Regions from separate parts of the Homo sapiens genome. Here region 1 is linked to region 2. Evidence: promoter capture Hi-C in 16 types of primary human blood cells and fetal thymus (Javierre and others, 2016). All regions are on one chromosome and are shown on one strand. The core of a region is centred on a gene start or on the middle of the fragment in contact, and the rest is flanking DNA. Distances in the headings are between cores, read along the strand shown.

Region 1 (2,700 bases), core at 85-2,584, 290 kb after region 2:
ACATTTAGGAGCATGGGAGATGTTTTGGATAGAGCTCTGTCTACTAAAACCCTTTTAACAACCCCAAGAGACAGACAACTAGACCAACCCCAACAGACAGACAACCAGACCCATTTAGAAGATGGAGAAACTGAGGAACTGTTGAGTGGCTGCAACAGTACTAGGCCTAAGCACATCTTCCTTTGCCTGTGAGGACAGCAGGGCCCCATCTCTGGAAAAAATTCACCCTGTCCACCCCTTTCTCACCACCTGGCTGACCTTTTCATAAAGGTGAAATATGGCTAAAATGAAAATGTTTCACCCTTGATTTAAAAAAATAAAAACAGCCAGGCACAGTGGCTCATGACTGTAACACCAGCACTTTGAGAGGCCAAGGCAGGAGGCTCACTTGAAGCCAGGAATTCGAGACCAGACTGGACAACAAAGCGAGACATAGTCTCTAAAAAAAACTTTTTTAATTAGCCAGGTGTGGTGGTGCATGCCTGTAGTCCCAGCTACTTGGGAGGCTGAGGTAGGAGGATCACTGGAGCCCAGGAGGAGCACAGGAGCTCAAGGCTGTGGTAAGCTATAATCACGCCACAGCACTCCAGCCTGGATGACAGAGAGATGCCTTGTCTCTGAAAAATAATAATAATAAAATAATAAATAAATAATTAAAGTTTAAAAACCAAAAAACTGCAAGTTAGAAACCTAAGCTCACATCATGGCCCTTTGCAGAAACCTGTGTGTCCCCAGAGAGGTCCCCTCCCCTCTCCGGGCTCATCTTTGTGATCTAGTACCTGGCAGTCTGTGACTCAGTTGCTTCCCTTCCACATCTAACTTTCTATGGCTCCAGGGGACAGACCATAAACTTCTCTTTCCCTCAGCCCTCACACCTGGCTCAGCATCAAGTCTGGCTCAGCTTTATTTCCAAAACACGTCACCAATCATCCGGATGAGGCATTAGTGGGAGTTTCTGCCCTATTCTTGCAACTTTTCTGTAAGTATCGTTTTCATCCTTTCCTTTGTCTCTCTAGATTCTCCACACAGAAGGCAGGGTTGTCTTTGGTTCTCTTTTGTCTTTTGTTTTGGTAAGAGATATATAAAAATAGATACCATTTTAACAATTTTAAGTGTATAATTCACTGGCATTAACTATATTCACATTGTTGTACCACCGTGACCACCATCTGTCTCCAGAACTTTTCCATCATGCTGGCTGCATCTCTGCATCCATTACACGGTAACTCCCGCTGCCCCCTGTCTGAAGGGCTTCTCTCCCTCCACATAATGACTTCACGGTTCATCCATGTTGTAGCATGTGTCAGAATCTCCTTCCTTTTTAAGACTGAATAGTATGCTATGGTATATATATGCCACATTTTGTTTTTCCATTTATCCCTCAATGGACATTTGAGCTTTTTCCACCTTTTGGCTATTGTGAATCATGCTGCTACAAACAGTAGTGTGCAGGGTCATCCTTTAAAAATACAAATCAGTTCCCGTCACTCTTTACTCCCTTACAGTTCTTCCAAACTTCACAATTTAAACTCTTTTCCCTCATCCACTAGGCCCCACAGGTCCCAGCTTCTGTCACCTTTGTCCCCCCAACTTCCCAGGCTACAGCCATGTGAGCCTCTGCCCAGCTCTCACACACCCAAAGCATGGCCTGGGAGGGCCTTTGCACCAAATCTTCCCCAGGCCTGAGTGTGGCCAGCTCCTTCTCTCCATCCAGGTCTCTGCTGAAATCCCTCCTCCTCCGACAGCCGTCCCCCCGTCCACCTGGGTTGCAGCAGCCCCCTGTGCCCATGCAGTCCCCAGGCCCTGTTTCCAGGGTTTATTTTCTTTGTAAAAGTTACAGCCCTGATATCCTATCACATTACTCTTGTGTATTGTCATTTCCCCCGCTAGACTTTCGAGCAGGGCGCTTTGTTCACTGCTGAGCCTCAGAGCCCAGAACAGTGCCTGCACACAGGAGGCATTCCCAATGCTTGTGGGATTCCTTAAGTCTGAATATCTGATTTGACCATCCAGAGTGAAAGTGTAGCAGAATAGAGGGGTCCTGGGACCTCAAAGGAAGCTGACAGAAGGGAGGCACCGGTGCACGATGCTGGTCCCCATTACATTCTCACCTCAGCTGCTAACTTCTGCTTCCTCTCTTTTGGCTGCTGCGTTGGTTGCCCCTGAGTGGGAGCCTGGGACAGAGAAACATGTGGCATGGCACAGCACACTTGACATAATACCCAAAGCACATGTCCACTCTCAGCCACGTCAGGCTTTGTATTCCCAGAGAGCTCAGAGATGACAGGTAAGACCTGGCTGGGTACAACCAGAGCAATTCGTTATAGAAGTACAGCCAAGTCACTGAACCATATAACATATAAGGAGAGAACGCATTAGTCTGTGTCTCTCCAACGTTCAAAATGCTAAGTCATTTTTCAGGCTTGGCTTGATTTCTCTTTCATCAGTAAGAGCTACAATCCTGCCAAGCTGGGAGCAGATAGCTCTACCTGCTGCTGAGATAGACGGGCTCCATAAAGGGCTGAGGGAATGCCAGCCGCCGCACTACTTTCAGCAGGTTCCACATGTCTGCTCCTCTGGGACGGCGTATCCAAAAGTGTCTCCCCAATCCTAGTCCCACAGTGACAAAATCCCCTATTGGAGAGATGTAACTGAGGCTTCCCCTGCAGGAAGCCACATGGCATGGCAGAGCACCAGACT
Region 2 (2,700 bases), core at 83-2,582:
ACTTCAAATGTCACTCCTGAAGTGTACATTTATAGAACATGGTAATTCAATGAGGAAGCTCCAGGGTCAGATGGCTCAGGTTCCATTACCATCCCTGACACTCACTAGTTGTGTGATCTTTGGAAAGTTATTTCATTCCTCTGTTACTCAGTTCCCAGTCTATAGAGTAGCAATAATAGCCTCTGCATTATAGAGTTATTGTATGGCTTAAATGAGCTAATACATGTAAGGGCTTATAACAGTGCCTAGCACCTGGTATAAACACTCTATAAATGTTAGCTATTGTTATTTGCCAGGAGTGAATCAAATATAAGAAGAGTGTTTGTATAAGATTACCTTTAAATTCCCTGCCAATCCTGAGGTTCTATGTTTCTATATCATTCCAGTCCCTTAGCATTCCTATTCAGTAGGGAGGGGGCAGCATTATCCACATTTTACAAACAGTAAAATTGAGCCATAGAGAAGCAAAATGTCCAGTAAGCAAGTGGCAGTCTGAAACCAGGACTCAGATTTTTAGATGTAAGTATTAGGACTCTTTCCGGGAGGCTGTGTGGCTGTACATTTAAAAGAGAATGTTAGATATCCCTTATGAGCCTATGAGCAGTGACCCCTTGATGCCCCTTCTCTGCCAAGGTTCTCCATAAATGTGCATCAAGGTCACTTCTGTCTCTACTTCTGAGATGATCTCAGGCCATATCTTTTCAGATATTTTTCTTACTAGCTTTACAAAAAAGCTATATTGTGGAGTTGGATGAAGGGCCAGCTCCCTGTATCCTCTGCCTCTTTAGGCATTCCCATGCCTGGGTTGTGCTACGTATACACATACTTCACCTGGCTGCAGACGCTGACTTTTTGGAGGGTTCCTTCTGCTGAGCCCGGACCTCAAACCACTTGAGAACCCCACAACTGACCTTATTCCAAAACATTCTATCCCAACCCATTCCACCCTGGATTTCTCCTTCAATCATGGGCAAAGGATCTGCAAAAGCTTCCATCCTCTCCCTTTCTCTTCTTATCTGGGTTGGTCAGAGGGAAGCCTCTATCTTCTTCAGGACCCTGCCTATGCAGAGGCAGCTCCAAGAGTTGGGTGCGGGGAGTATTTCTGTGCCTGAATCTGGACTGTTCAAGAGGATTTAGGATGCTTTTCTTTTCTGTCCACTAGGGGGCTGCTTGTAGGGGGATGGAAAAAACGGAGGCTTAAAAAAATCATGCTGCTGAAATTTCAGCAAGAGGGGAAAAGAGAGAGCGCGTGAGAGAGAGAGAGAGAGAGAGAGAGAGAGAGAGAGAGAGAGAGAGACAGCAAAGCAGTCCCAGGCTTCCTCCTCTCTTTCACGTCAGAGGCAGGAACCGACTGTGCTAAGGCTGTTGGCTCAACACCCAGAGGAGACGGGCAGACCCAGGGAGAGTGAGAGAAGGGGGTCCTCTCTGACCCAAGGAATTACCACTAGTGGAGTGAAGCCACCTGACTTTTTGATCTTATTTTGGTTGCCTCCTCATTCTCCTTCCACCCGTAGCCCTGACAGCTTGGGTTTCATTTCTTTCGTGGAGCCTTGTCTCTTCCTCCCAGAATAGGAGGAAGGGAAGAGAAGGGAAAGAGGAGGGCTCTCTAGGTGAGCGCATCAGCTGGCTCCAGCCTGAGCAAGCAAGAATTTTCTTCCCAGGAAGCTCCTCTCGCTCCCCGGCCGCCCACCCCCAGCCTGGGTAAGTCCAGAGCACTCGCTCCTTTGATTTTCTGGCTAACGTGATTTCAGCACCAAGGAGAGCTATGAGATGCATTTTGGTTCCTGTGTATCTGTGTGTTCTGCAAGGCATTTGGCACTAGGGTTACATCTATTTCTCTGCTGCCAGTAGAGTCGGGTTCTGCGTAGGGAAAAGAAAGGCGCAAAACTATGTTTACCGAATTAAAGGGGGATTGGACTCTGGCCTTGCGGGTGTGTGTGTGTGTGTGTGTGTGTGTGTGTGTACTGTTGCATAAGACAGGTGAGGTCTGAGCTAAATTGCGGGTGGTTTCTGCGTGTCTCCATGTAAGGCTGTTCTTTTTGTCTGTAGATAAGCGAGATGGTTTGGGGAATTAGTCGTGCACCTTCTTTAACTCTCTCCCGACAAGCCATCCATGGTGGGAAAGAGTTGCAAAGGAAGCCTGGGGGGTTGGGAGTGGAGGTAGAGTTAAAAGTTACGCACCTCTGAGAGAGCTTTAAAGAGGTGCTTTGTAAAATGTCAGTTTCCTAGTATTCTCTGGGCTCTTGCTGTGGAGAGAGCCCAACCTGACCTTTTACTTTCTCTTCTGGTGTGAACCCATGGTAAGTGGGCAGGTGCAACAGGTGAAGCTCAGGCTGGGGCGGCTTTGGGGGGTTGAGGTCCCTTCTGACTTCATGGTGGTAGGAAAGTGCTAGTGTCTTGAGCTTTGCAGAGACTGGCTGGTGTGGGTTATATTACATTTGCAAGGAGGCAGGAGGTACCCTCCACTTTTATGCCATCTTTGGCTATGGGTGGTTGGAAAGAAGACAAAGTCTGTTCTGCCCTGTTTTCTGGGGCATTTGGCAGTGAAAAACAACTAAGAATAAAGGTTTGTCTCTATATGTCTAGGGTGAGCAGAAACAAAATTAGACTTGTCCCAGACTCAGGAGGGCTTGAAGTGGTACTCTGTTCTCCTCCAGCACTGAGAGGCTCTGCAAACAGGAGCTCATTATTACTTCTTTC

Evidence for each region. The method cuts DNA at HindIII sites, captures the fragments that hold promoters and counts their contacts. A CHiCAGO score of 5 or more calls a contact.
Region 1: a contact is called between a fragment that was not itself captured here and the fragment with the promoter of TNR in region 2, in 3 of 17 cell types (naive B cells, total B cells and endothelial precursors). The highest score is 8.3, in naive B cells.

Annotation. Positions count from the first base shown.
Region 1 is chr1:175,451,497-175,454,196 of GRCh38, reverse strand. All of the region lies in intron 2 of TNR (tenascin R), which reads left to right. Among named protein-coding and RNA genes, the nearest start is that of KIAA0040, 260 kb to the right of the region's middle. The HindIII fragment of the contact is 4,322 bases long and covers 1-2,700 here.
Region 2 is chr1:175,742,227-175,744,926 of GRCh38, reverse strand. TNR (tenascin R) reads left to right here and starts at 1,332. Exons shown (of 23, transcript NM_003285.3): 1 at 1,332-1,701. The HindIII fragment of the contact is 6,381 bases long and covers 991-2,700 here.